2 separate regions of the Homo sapiens genome follow, and region 1 is linked to region 2. The links are contacts of gene promoters, found by promoter capture Hi-C in human tissues and cell types (Jung and others, 2019). All regions are on one chromosome and are shown on one strand. Each heading gives the region's core, a stretch centred on a gene start or on the middle of the fragment in contact. The rest is flanking DNA. Distances are from core to core; before and after follow the strand shown. Region 1 overlaps ECE1 (endothelin converting enzyme 1). Region 2 holds the start of RAP1GAP (RAP1 GTPase activating protein).

Region 1 (6,806 bases), core at 3,492-5,991, 390 kb before region 2:
AATCCAACAAACATTAACTAAGGATACAGCTGCAAACAAGACAACGTGGAGCTCTAATCTGAGGAAAAACCATCAACACAGGGGTGAACTAGAGGTGCCCAAGGCCTAGTGAAGTGCAAAGAGAACTCTGACCAGAGGGCTTATCGTGCAAGCCCGATCACCGTGAGGCTAAGGATGATTCCCGCCTACACTGAATAACTAATCCTCTGATAAGCTGTTGTTAGAACTTTCATTGGATCACAACCTTAGAATCTGATCTAGTGTGTTCAGTCTCGATCCCTTTTGCTCATAACTTTCAAAACTCACAGTCAATACTAGTCAAAAGCTACGCCAAGCTTGAAGCCACAAAAGTAACGACCACAGCCACCAGTTCTTGTGTACACCCTACATGCCACACACACCATGCTAATGCTTTACACATGTGCTCTCTAGTTCTCAAAACTCTGTACCTTGGGTCTTATTAGTCTCATTTTACAGATGAAGAAACTGAGGTTCAGAGATATGTGACTTACTCAGGATCATACAATGAGTGAGGGCAGACATTCTAACCCAGCTTCACCTACTCCCAAGTCTATGGTCTTCCATTCTGCCAGGCTCCTCTTTTCTTGTTTTTTAGACAAGAGTCTCACTCTGTTGCCCAGGCTGGAGTGCAGTGGCGCGATCTCGGCTCACTGCAACCTCTGCCTCCCAGTTTCAAGCGATTCTCCTGCCTCAGCCTCCCGAGTAGTTGGGACTACAGGCGCACGCCACCATGCCTAGCTAATTTTTGTATTTTTAGTAGAGACAGGGTTTTGCCATGTTGGCCAGGCTGGTCTTGAACTCCTGGCCTCAAGTGATCCACCCACCTTGACCTCTCAAAGTGCTGGGATTACAGGTGTGAGCCACCGTGCCCGGCCCATTCTGCCAAGCTCCTCCTTTAAGCAGGCGCAGCTGGGAAGCTGGCTGGGCCAGCTGACAGCTCCCCGCTGTGGCCCATTTATTGGTCTCCATGCTGGATGCTTACCGAGGAGGTGCTTGATGATTGCTTGGTTGTGTTCCCAGAGGTTGCTGAAGGTCCCCCAGCGTGAGTGGCCATCAGGGACTGGGTTGGCCTTGATCCAGCCCCCACAGGCGTAGCTGAAGAAGTCATGGCAGGGGTCCACTGTGGGGTCCATGGAGCTCAAGATGGAGCTGGTCACTGAGACACAAGCTTCGCTCAGGCACACAGAGGGGGATCCTGGAAGGGTTAAGGACAAGAGGCCAGTGAAGGGCAGGCAGGGAAGAAGCAGGGAGGGCAGAGAAGGGGGCTTGGGGCCCAGGGGCCACATGTCCCACCCTGGCCCTGACCACACAGATTTGGAACTGGACGGTCACTAGACCCCTACAGAGAAATGATTTCCGCTTATAACACAAGACTTCTACTCAGCTGTCTAAAATCCTTCCTGTGGCTAAAAGGTACCCAGAACCCAGGTGTTTCTCTTAATCAACCTTCTCCTCCATAAATATTCATTGACTCTTTATTATTCCTTGATGCTCAACAAATTTATTCATTCACGCATGCATTCATTTATTCAGCAAGATAATGACTACCTTCCAGGTTCTCTGCTGAGTATGGAGTGCGTGTGTGTGCATGTGTGCACCTGCGTGAAAGTGTGTGCCCGTGCGTGTGTGCGTGTGTGTGTGTGTGTGTGTGTGTGTGTGTGTGTGTAGGGTACTGGGGTATTGGGCATAAAAAGGCAGAGTCCTTTAATCCAAGAGCTAACAATTCAGTTGGGGATATACACATAAATCAAAATGGAACAGTAGGAGAAATGTCTGTCCTCCTTTCTACAAAAATAAACTGAACATTTACTATGTGCCAAAAGGGTGATGTAGACAGTATGGATGACAGGACATAGGAAGGAGGAAAGCCTATTAGAAATAGAAGGAGGAAATAGGAAAAATCACTCCTACGTACAAGCAGGAGAGTGAGTGACCTCAGGGAATCCTCAAAAACCCAAAGGCTACGCCAGGTGCCGTGGCTCACGCCTGTAATCCCAGCACTTTGGGAGGCCGACTTAATCACAGCTACTTGGGAGGCAGAGGCAGAAGAATCGTTTGAACCCGGGAGATGGAGGTTACAGTGAGCCAAGATCGAGCCATTGCACTCAATCCTGGGGGATAAGAGCGAGGAGACTGGTTTGCCAGAGGCAAGAGGAAAGGGCCAGAGCCCTGCCTCAAGGTTGGCGGCTGAGCTCTCCCAAAGGACCCAAAGCCTGGGTGGCCTACGCAGAGGCCTGGCCTGAGGCAGCAACATGAAGCTGACTGTGCAGGATCGAGAATCACAGGCCCAGCCCCATCGTCCGTTTACCCAGGCTGTGCTGATGACCAAAGGGACTTTACTGAACGTGGCCGTGTACTGGGCACTTTGCACACATTCAGGATCTCATTTAACTCATTACAAGTCATCAGATGCAGGCATCATGTCCCTAGTTAAAGAGGAAACTGAGGGAGTGAACGGAACAAGGTCGCCCAGCTATGTGGGAGGGCGGAGAGCTGAGAGCTGGGCCCAGGCCTGTCTTGGTCCAGCCATGCCAAGGCTGTGTTTTTCTGCTTTCCTTCCCCACCTCTCTGCCAGTCACACGAGGGGCTGGTGCAGCCTGACTGCTGAGATCCGTTTCCCCACCACACAGGGAGGCAGTGAGGCAGGGTGGGCTTTGGAGGCCACTAGACCTGGGTTCAAATCCAGCTTTCTACGTTTGCCAGTGGGGCTTTGGGCAAGTGACCTCATCGCTCCATGCCTCAGTTTATCCATCTAAAAGTTAGGAAGAAAGGTAGGACCAATTTCACAGATTTCACAGTGATGATGGCCATGGCTGGGCACGGGGGCTCAGCTTCCTCAAGTCTCAGGGTCTGAAGTTTCAGGCCAGTCTTTAGAGAGCAGCAAAGAACGCACGAGCTAGTATGGGCAGTGTTCCCCTCACTCAGGAACATAAGGCCAGTGGGCAGAGGTTCATTTGTGGAATTAGTAACATTTGATGACAAACACATAGTCCTTCAGATGGGTGGCTGACAAAGGGCTCAGAGCAGCTGCACAACAGCAGGAAAATCAGGGTGATCTGACTTTGAGATAATCACACAACAATTAAAAATTATTGTTCACAGCCGAGAGGTGTGCCATAAAAAAATTATGGAGCCATTACACATGAAAACAGAGAAAGGAAATGGTGGGGGTGATGGTGCCATTTTAAATATCTCTAAATCAAATCATCTTAATCACAGTTGCATGCTCCACTCCCAAACTCGGGGAAGGCACCAGAATCTTTATGGGGCAGGGAAAGAATTTCCATGTAGGTTGAAAGAGCCTGTTGAGTATTACGATATAACTCCATACTTAGAGAAGGAAAAGAATACCTATTGTTTTCACACATCGAACCACAGGAAGGAAAATTTTACAACATCTTGGCTGGTGGAGATGCCCAGGAGACAGGCTGAGAGTGAGCCTAACGCGGGAAGACGCATCAGAATCTGTGTGTATGTGTCTGTGTGTGAGAGAGAGACAGACTGATTAATTAACTGATAAAGGTTTTTGCTGTTATCACACAGGGACTTGGGTTTAAAAACAAAACAAGAAACTAGTCCCAGAAGTCAGTCTCAGAGGCCGGGCTCGGTGGCTCATGCCTGTAATCCCAGCACTCTGGGAGGCCGAGGTGGGCGGATCACCTGAGGTCAGGAGTTCGAGACCAGCCTGGCCAACATGGTGAAACTCTGTCTCTACTAAAAATACAAAAATTAGCCAGGTATGATGGGGGGCACCTGTAATCCCAGCTACTTGGGAGGCTGAGGCAGGAGAATCTTTTGAACCCGGGAGGCGGAGATTGCAGTGAGCCAAGATCGCGCCACTGCATTCCAGCCTGGGCGACAAGAGTGAGACTCTGTCTCAAATAAATAAATAAAGCAGTCTCAGAAATTTGAGTTCTTCACTAAGTGCCTACTTTGCTGGACATTGGGCTAGGGACCTACGAGGTGCTTAAGGAGCAATGGCTTGATTATTTAACTATTTAATGGTTTGCAGAAACTTCATGAAATATTCCTGGCCCAGGAAGTGCTTCATGCATTTTGATGACCTCATGGTTTCCAGGCCCCCTCATCTAAGGCCCCCTCTTCCTACGGAAACCTTCATCGACCCCCTTCCCTCTCTGGGCCCCTCAGCGGCCTGGGTGCCTGCTCTGCTACTGTGCTATGTCACGACCATCTCCTTGTTCATTTCTCCTACTAGAATGTGAACTTCAGGGCAGGCCAATATCCTATGCGTTTTTATATTTCCATTGTCTAGTACTGTGTTTGGCAACTAGCAGCTGTTTAATACGTGCTTTTTTTTTTTTTTTTTTTTTTTGAGACAGAGTTTTTGCTCTGTCACCCAGTGCAGTGGCATAATCTCGACTCGCTGCAACCTCTGCCTCCTGGATTCAAGCAATTCTCCTGCCTCAGCCTCCTGAGTAGCTAGGATTACAGGCATCCAACACCACGCCTGGCTAATTTTTGTATTTTTAGTAGACACGAGGTTTCACCATGTTGGCCAGGCTGGTCTTGAACTCTTGACCTCAGGTGATCCACCCGCCTCGGCCTCCCAAAGGGCTAGGATTATAGGCGTGAGCCACTGCGCCCGGCCTCAATACGTGTTTTTGAATGAACAACCGAATGAATGAAAGGCCTTATTCAGCACTTGTTCACCACCTGCAGAGGCAGCAAACATTTCTTTCCGTTGGGACATGCGTGATCAATTGAGAAAGCAGAAACAGATCCTAGATTTAATTTACAGACACTCATCTGGACAGCCTGGCCTCAAAACTGTGTAGAATGCTTTCTTTAAAATATGTTCTTGGAGAATGTATTGTTTGTTTTGCTGCCTCTGTTTGCAAAGCACCAGCATGTTTCTGGAAAGGAAGCATAGCAGGAAGGTAAGTAAACACGTACTATGTGTCCAGACATTCCCAGAGGCTGGCCTTCAGAATCATCAGATTTGCTTTCTTTTTTTTTTTTTTTTTTTGAGACGGAGTCTCGCTCTGTCGCCCAGGCTGGAGTGCAGTGGTGCCATCTTGGCTCACTGCAACCTCTGCCTCCCAGGTTCAAGTGATTCTCCTGCCTCAACCTCTCGAGTAGCCGGTGTGCACCATCACAGCCACCTGAGTAGCTGGGACTACAGTTGTGCGCCACCATCCCTGGCTAATTTTTGTATTTTTAGTAGAGACGGGGTTTCACCATGTTGGTCAGGCTGGTCTCGAACATCTTGACCTCAGGTGATCTGTCCATCTCGGCCTCCCAAAGTGCTGGGATTACAGGCGTAAGCTACTGCGCCCGGCCAGATTTGCTTTGACTGGCCTGATGTTTGCTCAGATGTGGCCAGCACCAGCACCTGCTCCTGGGTAATGAGGTTACTGTTAATATCTGGGGTGGTCACTGCTTTCCCAGGTGGCTCAGGGGTCACCTGATACTCTGCCCAGCTCCACTCCAGGGGAAGAATGTTCCTCTCCCAGGTCCAGGCTGGAGAAAACCCTTCTGAGACCCAGAGAGGGACACAACAGAGGCAGAAGCAGGATTCCTCCCAAGGGGCCCCACTGGGCAATAACAACAGAAATGTTTTGGGTCTGATCATCAGGAGCTGGCCCGTGGGGACTCCCCCCTGGTTTCTGGTGAAGACATATCTTTGGAGCTCCGAGGGGCAGTCTCAGGGTAACACTGGCTGCCGGAGTCTGGCCAGCTCCCGCTGCTCTGAGCCAAGAGCTGTGCAGACGTGCTGGCCAGGGTCCACACTGACCAGGAGGGGGTTCAGAACTAGAGCTGATTTAGGCTGAGGCGACATGGCAGTGGCAGGAGAGGATGACGAGCTTGTGTCCTGTTAGCAGAGGAGGCACAAACACACACACACACACACCAGGACACGATCACACAATATACATACACTCAGCAGAGAAAGGCTGTTCCCAGCCTGATCTTCCTTCCTACCCCTTCGTTCATTCAAACATTAATTTATTCATTTTACTATCTGCACACCTATGGCACAGGCACTATGCTAAGCACATCTGGTTAAGGGCCTGAAAACTAGTCATTAATTAGTCAAATATGCATTAAGCACCTGCTGAGCCAGGCACATTTGGTAAAACACCTACAAACCATTATAGTTAACTAATCAAGCAATTATTTCTTAAGTACAACCTATCTTTGTGGAATGAATGAATACCTGTGTGCCTTACCCAGGAGGGATGGAAGAATGCTCAGATGAAGGCCCTGCTCTTTTCTAGGCCCCTGAGTCCCCTCCCCACCCCAGCGCAGCGTGGCCACCCTCACAGACCAGCAACTTCACAGAGGGAAGGCTCCACACAGCCTGTAGTGGATGTTCCAAGATCCTGTGAAAGCTCCTAATCTCTCTCATGGGGTGAGCGACCGAGTCAGTGGGTGGGATGCTGAGCAGAGCCCCCAGAGGCTGCTCAACTAGGTGAACCATCTGCCATCAGAAGAATAGATGTTGGGGCACAGGGGACTGAGAGGCCCTGGCTTTGGCTAATTCCCCATTCTTATTTCTAACTTGGATCCACCCCTTCGCACTTCTTAAGTGTTTACTGAGCATCAACTCTGTGTGAGGCAGCTGGCTAGATCCACTTAGTTGGAAACAGAGAACCAGTCTCAGACCCCTACAGCAGGATCAGAGTGGCCCAATTGTATCACCATTCAAAGTGGGACAAAGGCACCGATCAAGGAACACGATGGGCAGCTGGATCTGGAAGGGCAGCTCTCCTGGGGGTGTAATGCGCTCTGGAGCGTACTTGGATTACAAAGGGAGGTGGAGC
Region 2 (6,794 bases), core at 3,056-5,555:
TCCTTTTAGACCCAGCAGAATGCCTAGGATAAGCTGGGCACTGCCCTCAGTGTTTGCTTGCATTCACCTTCTTATCCCTTGAAACATACTCATCAGGCAAGTGCTATGATTCCCACTTCCTAGATCAAGAAACAGACTCAGAGGGAGAGAGGAACTCACCAAAAGTTGTACGGCTGCTCAGTGGCAATGTCAGAATTCGAACTTGGGTCTGCTTCCTCCGAATGGGGGTCCGAGGGAGGGTGGCCTCGGTTGGCAGAGGTATTAACCTGTAGAGTGGGCAAGTCACTTTCTCTCTTTGAGCCTCACCTCCTCATCTGACACAAAGCACCGGGCTGTGGCAGGGACCACAGGACCCAGCTCATCTCTGTGCCCCAGTGCCTGTCACAGTCCCTGGGATCCACTACATGCTCATTAAATGCTTAGTGAGTAGGCACACGAGGCTGCTCCCATTGTGCTGGTGCAAAGCAGGAGTATCATGTTTTGCTTCCTTTCTTGCAGTAGGAAAGGCTGGAATCCCAGTGGGACCTTTCTGTTTTGGGGTGTCTCCCCACCAGCACTCCTCTGCCTCTTTTCCCTTCTTCCTCTCTGAGTCACCACCTGCCTGACAGTGCTGGTCTTTAGCCCTAAATATAGAGCACATTTTGAGGCATAAAATGTCCACAAATGTGAGCAACATAGCTGCAGCCCACTGCCCTTGGGTACCCTCCTCCTGGGCTGACCCCAGGGTGGCCGCCCCAAGAAGCCCTGAGACTGGCGACCCCTGCTTGGCCCTAGTGTGGATCCAGAGGCTGCACTCTGCAGGAAGTCATCAGCCTGGGGCCCCATGGGCCCACACTGCCACCAGAGCCCAACTTCCTTTCCTTATTGGCACAGGGCTGCCACCTCACACCTCTGACTTTCCTCATCCCCCAGCCAGGCTGAGCTGCCTCCCAGAGCTGGAGCTGGGCCCAGAGAGGGAAAATGACTTGTCCGGGCCACACAGCCAGCAAGAGGCAGGGCCAGGCTTGGACAGGGAATCAGCACTCTGGCAGGCTTGGTGTGAGTGCCGAGGGAGCATGGTGGAGCTGGGAGCCCCTCCCCATCTAGCATGTCTGCCCTGGAGGCCTCACCTAAGCCCACAGAAGCACCTCTCCACAGCGCCAGTCTCTCAGAGGCACAGGGTGCCAGGGCCAGCCTGGCAGAGGTCCTGGCATGCAAGGAGGTGAGCAGAGAGTGCTGAGGGCTCCCTTCCCTTCACACCAGCTGGCCCCCAGCCTTGCTGGGAGGACAAAGCAGAAACTGGGGCCTGGTAATGCCTCTAGCAAAAGTGGAAAGGAAAGGGAACCCCAGAGCCGCTTGGAGCCTGCACTGGGTCCTGTCCTGTCTTGGGAAGGACCTGCAGAACAACACCTTCAGAGACAGCAAAGGAGCAGCCTGGGGAGAGGCTCCCGTGGCAACCCGCTGGGTATGTACACAGAGGGGAGGCAGGAGAGGAGGGTCCACTGAGTGGGAAGCACCAGGCAGTTTCCCAGGATTCTTGGGGCCAGTCAAGCTGGGTCCACATGAATCAGAAAAGAGGGAGGAAGGGGAGGCTTTGCTGGGGACGGTCGGGGGCCTCCACTCCCCTCCCCGGGTGATGAAGCATTAACATCCCACACGCAGGAAGCTGATGTAATTCATGCGTGTGTGCACCCATGATGGCCTGGGTGTGGGTGGGTGCATGTGCGTGTCTGCCAGGTTCATTTTTAAGGGCGTAGGGCATCCTCGTGTTCTTCCTGCATGCGCGTGTACCATGTGTGCACCCTGGAGGAGATAATGGAGGCAGACGACAGAAGACGAGGGCTTCTGAAAAGGCTCTTCTCCTTGCTGACAACCTCCGTCTCTCTGTGTGTACACACGTGCCAGCATCTGGATGGTGTGACTCTCAGTGCTTGTGTGTCAGGCAGAGTCGGGGGCAGGGGTCTTGGCCTGGGTGTGCCCGTGTGTTCCTGTGTCTGGGTCTCAGGGTATCTGTCAGTCTAACTGTATTTGCGTTTGTGTCTGGCCGTGCTCAGGTCTCGGTTGTTTGCACAGCACATGCGGCTGCTCAGCAGCCTCTGACAGCCAGGACAAAGGCCTCCGTAGACAGATGGCAGCATGGAGGACAGATCTGCCCGAGGAGTCCTCAAAGGGCCTCTTGGCCCCAGAATTTGACAGCAGGGCAGGGGCAGGGCCAGGTGAGAGGGAGGTGGAGGCCCTGCTGTGGGAGCCTGAGGCCTAAGTGGCAGAGACCTCTCTCCCTGCTGCCCTCCAAGAGGCCAAAGGAAGAATCCTTCTTGTCTCCTAAGGGTGGAAGGTAGTTAGAGCCAGGAGAGGGGCCTCCTGAGACCCCTGCCAGGCAGGCACCTTGGGAAGAAGAGAAGAGGAGAGGGCTTTGCCCAAGCAAGCTGGGAAGGTCCCAGGGTGAAAGCACCATTATGGTGCTCCACGGGACAACCCTCCCTCCATGGGAAGGGGTGGCAAGGCAAGCCTAGGACTCTGGACCCTCTCCTCAACCTGACCCAGCTTCCAGCCACAGGCACCCTCACCTCCTGGCAGCAAAGGGGAGCAGGTCCACATGGACCACTCCACCACGGCGTTCACCCTTCCTCCTCTCCACCGCTGTGGAGATCTTCTCCCATCAAGAGTCAGAGTACCACGATTCTAGACCTTGCTGAAGGTGACTAGGTGACCTCAGGCAGTTCATTTAGCCTCTCCGAGCCTCAGTTTCCTCACCTGTGCAATGGAGGCTTCAGCGCCTGCCCTGAAATATTGCTGTGAAGGGGGAAATTGCTCGTGCCACCTGAGGATTAATCATTACCCTGGAACCCTTCCCAAGGCCATCAAGGAACACGCACCCCTTACCAGACCTTCCAGCTGCTGGGGGCTCTCAGAGTGAGGCTGAGGTCATGGAGAAGGGAATGGGGGGCCCCCATGGCCAGCTGGACCTGATCACTGCCTCCCCACTCAGCCACAGCCCTCAGGGCCCTGTGCCAGTCCAGAAGCCCATTCAGGGACACCTTTGGCCAATGTTCTGTTTCATCTGCGAGGCAACCTTCCCCAGTGCCCCAACCATAGCGTTTTCCCCCAAACACCCTCAGGAAGGAGGGACCACTACCTGTGCAGGGGGGGCCAGGAGCCTCCTGAGAGCCTCATATGGGGAGGAAGTGGTACCATCTCACCCCCATTGCCTTTCTCTCCTACTTCCACCTGGCCAGCTTCCCTCAGTGCCCCTCCTGCCTCAGTGCCCCTTCCCTCAGTGTCCTTCCTGCCTGCCGCCCCAGGGGCCTGACCTCTGACTTGGCAGGGAGGGGAATGGAGCCCGGGGACAGAGGCCAATGAGCCCTGAGAACAGTGGATGTTCTTCCTGACCCCACCACCGGGCCTGTGCTATGACCCCAACAAGGACTCCGAGGGCATGCACAGGCTGGGGTCTGTTATGGTAGGGAGGGGGCCGCTCACCTCCGGAGACTGTGTGTGTGTGCAGGTGTGCGTACACAAGGTTTCTTCCCCAAGCCCAGGCGCCCCGCAGCTGGCACCAAACCCTGCAGGGCACGGAAACCGCCCCGTGAATTCCCACCGAGTCCTCAGATCCTGCCGAGCCAGGGGAGGCGACGAGGGGGCGCCCAACTTCGTGACGCGTGTGCCCCGCTCTGCCGCGGGGGTCAGGGACAGGGGAATGCGTCCTGTCTCTGGGGATGCAAGGACATCACCGCCCTCCCCGCTCAGGGTCCTTGATCTGAGGCCCCCACTTCCCTCCTCTGAGGACAGGAGCGCCACCCTCTGGGGGGCGCTAGGGCTTGGGCCCCTCCCCAGGGATGGAGGAAACGCGCCCACTTCCCACAGTCCCTCCTCTAAACCCCAGGCGCCCCCACCTCGAGGTGGGCGGAAAACTGGACTCCCCACCCACCCAGGGGGGTGGGACCAAAGCCCCCTGGCCGCGGCCTGGACCAAGTCCAACAGGCTGGGGGTTCAGCCGGCTCAGTCCAGGCCTCCCCCCACTTCTCCAGCTGCTGTCAAGACCGGGCTGCGCGAGCCCAGCTGCGCCCACCCCTCGCCCCTGGAGACCCGGGTCCCCCACGCGTTCGCCCCCACCCTCCGTCCCCGCCCGCCCGCGCGGGGTCTTCGCTGCGAGCCGACGGGAGTCTGGACACCTCTGTCCCCTTCCCCTTTCCAGGGCCGCAGCCCTGGCGGGGCGCACTCACCCAAGGGCCTGGGCCGGGGGCGTCCTGGGCTCGGCACTCTGGTGCCCGCGGCCGCCGCTGCAGCTCTGCTCAGATGCGGCCGGCGCTCGCCGCCGCCGCAGTTCGGGGAGGGGGACGTCACATGACCGCGGAGCGCTCCTTCCCCGGCGCCGCTCCCCACTCACTGCGGAGCCCAAGCCGCGGGCGCGGGAGCGGCGGGGAGGCCCCCGCCCTGCCGCCCCGCCCCGCCGCAGGTCCTGGAGGAGGGTTCTCGGTGCCCCCATTTTACAGGTGGGGAAACTGAGGACCAGAGAGGGGCAGGGACTGGCTCAAGGTTACACAGCTAGACAGTGGCAGAACCTGGGCGACAGCCCAGCTGTCCAGGCAACAGCTCATGCTCCAAGGGGACTGGGACAACTTCTGGATCAAGTGGAGACGTCGGGATAGGTGGGGCCCACGGCCCCCATGGGCTCCGCTTGTCTGCAGGCGCGGGAGGAAGGCGCACAGGCTTCGCTGGGCGAGAAAGCTGCTGTGCCCTGGCTGACGCCCTCCTCACCCGGGCGCTCGGCGCGCTTCCTGGCAGAGGCCACGCGGTTGACCCTCGCCAGCCCATTCGCGGCTCTTGGACTTTGTCTCTGGACTGGGCAGCTCGCCCCCGCCCCAGCCTAACCCGGGCCCAGGGCGGGTGTGGGGAGGGGAGCCACAGGCTACGGAGAAGTGGAAGGGAGGCACCCGGAAGAGAGTGGGATCAGAACAAGAGTGAAAACCCAGGCAGGGAGGGGGCGGCAGAGATCACCTCGGCCTGACTTCCAAGGCCCAGGGAGAGTTAGAGACTTGCCCAAGGTCCACAGCAAGTGAGCGGCCTGCCCACTCGAGTCCCTTCTTTGATGGTCAACAGAGCCTGAGGCTCCTGTGCCCCACTCCCCACCAAGGGGGAGCCCTCACCCACACCTCTTTCTGTTCTCCACTGAGCTCCCTCCCCGGGGAACAGCCCACATGAAGCAAAGAAACACGCAGTGGGTCGGCAAGGCCAGAACTGGGGACAACGGGTGAGGGGTATGGTTGGTGGCTCCAAGGTCATGAACTCGTCACAGAACACTCGTGTTCCAGGGGGATCTCTGAAATCTCTGGATCTCACCCCAATGTTCTAAGAACTGGGAAAACAGGCTGCAAAAGGTACAAAGACAGACCTCTTTCTCAACCATTTCGAATTGGTGGGTCAAGCCGACAGGGCCCTCCAAGGTCAACAAGTCCAATAGGCCCACTTGACAGATAATATTTAGGGAGGGGAAAGTCCAAGACATGTACTCAATATATTTCTTGAGCATCTACTGTGTGCTTAAAACCACAACTGTTACTTCCAGCTCCCACTATTTTCCCGGCCACATGGGCTGCATTTCACAAAAGGAAAGATCCGAGGTCTTCAGCAACTCTTACATCAGCCTCTGGAGGATCTGAGACATGCAAGCCTCCGGGTTTTCAGTCCCATAGGGGCTGGGGACCAGAGCCATGTTTTCCGGTCAAGACTCTAATCCCCGTGGAGAAAAGGTGAATAAGGGGGAATAGCAGGAAATGCCCCACCCTCTTCCCACGCATCCACCCACCTGTGAAAGGGCAGAGGGGAAGGTAGATCAGGCACTTGTTCTTTTCAGTCCTCCCTCCAGCAAGCTTCCCTAGCTGTATATGGGAAAGAGACCCCAGCCCAGGGGGGTTTCTCAAACTTCTAAGAGTGCAGGAGCGGTCTGTAGACTCAGATTCAGATTCAGTGGGCCTGGAGCCTGAGCTCCTGCATTTATAATGAAGCTTCGTGGCTGCAGACATCCTGAGCAGCACTGGTAGTACAAGGCAAGTTGTCAGGGCAGGAGGAAGACTCCTGCGGTATCACATGCTCACTCATGGACCACCCAACCCGGGGGGCCCTTTGATCTCCTGCCTAGGAATACACCAGGACTATATAGTTGGCTCAAACACTGTAATAAAAAGGCAAGAAGTTGAATGAGGCTGGCCGAGGCGCTTCTGGGGATGATGGTGAAGGGACTGTGGGGCATAGCAACTGCCCTAGACAGGTATGTCCTGCAGGGCTCTGGTCCTGGGAGATGCTTGGTCAAATACATCCTACTTAGGAAATGCCAGCAGAATGCCTATAGACCTTCAAGGGCAGCATGTACTGGGTGGGGCTGGCTCATCTTCAGCAGGGGCGGGGCTCACAGATCTCAGAAGTACATGGATTCCAGGATCCTTTTAAGCACCATCTCTCTACCCATCCTCTCGCTTTTTTATGCATTGCTCCCTGAATTCAATTCTGAGCACAATCTTCATGCTTCTTGCTTCCCTAACTCCTGTTCCAAAAGGGCCCCTTTCTCCTCCACGCTTTAAGACAGAGACCCTCAATTCTGGCCAGGCATTGCTGATGGTACATCCCAGAGTGCTGAGTGGAGACAAAGGTGTCCCACCTGAGCTGGAGGGAGGGGGCAGATGGAGGCACTGGAGATGCAGAAATGCAGCAAGCCAAGGGGTACAGCTGTGTGACCTCTTCATGGTCCCATAACCTTCTGGAGTCTGGACCTGCAGACTCCAAGGTCCTTAAGAGCTCAAGAGCCTATTAGCCTGGGG

The links. Contacts are between HindIII fragments. The study calls those that stand out against the background at their distance.
Region 1: a fragment that was not itself captured here is called in contact with the fragment with the promoter of RAP1GAP in region 2 in 1 of the 25 tissues and cell types used here (lymphoblastoid cells).

What each region holds. Positions count from the first base shown.
Region 1 is chr1:21,271,696-21,278,501 of GRCh38, forward strand. ECE1 (endothelin converting enzyme 1) reads right to left here. Exons shown (of 19, transcript NM_001397.3): 4 at 1,004-1,216. Among named protein-coding and RNA genes, the nearest start is that of ECE1, 15 kb to the right of the region's middle. RefSeq lists enhancers at 2,391-2,890, 5,036-6,014, 6,015-6,806. The HindIII fragment of the contact is 7,958 bases long and covers 763-6,806 here.
Region 2 is chr1:21,665,052-21,671,845 of GRCh38, forward strand. It overlaps RAP1GAP (RAP1 GTPase activating protein), which reads right to left and starts at 4,306. Exons shown (of 25, transcript NM_002885.4): 1 at 4,203-4,306. RefSeq lists enhancers at 1,007-1,507, 5,026-6,225 and a silencer at 4,228-4,377. The HindIII fragment of the contact is 12,626 bases long and covers 1-6,794 here.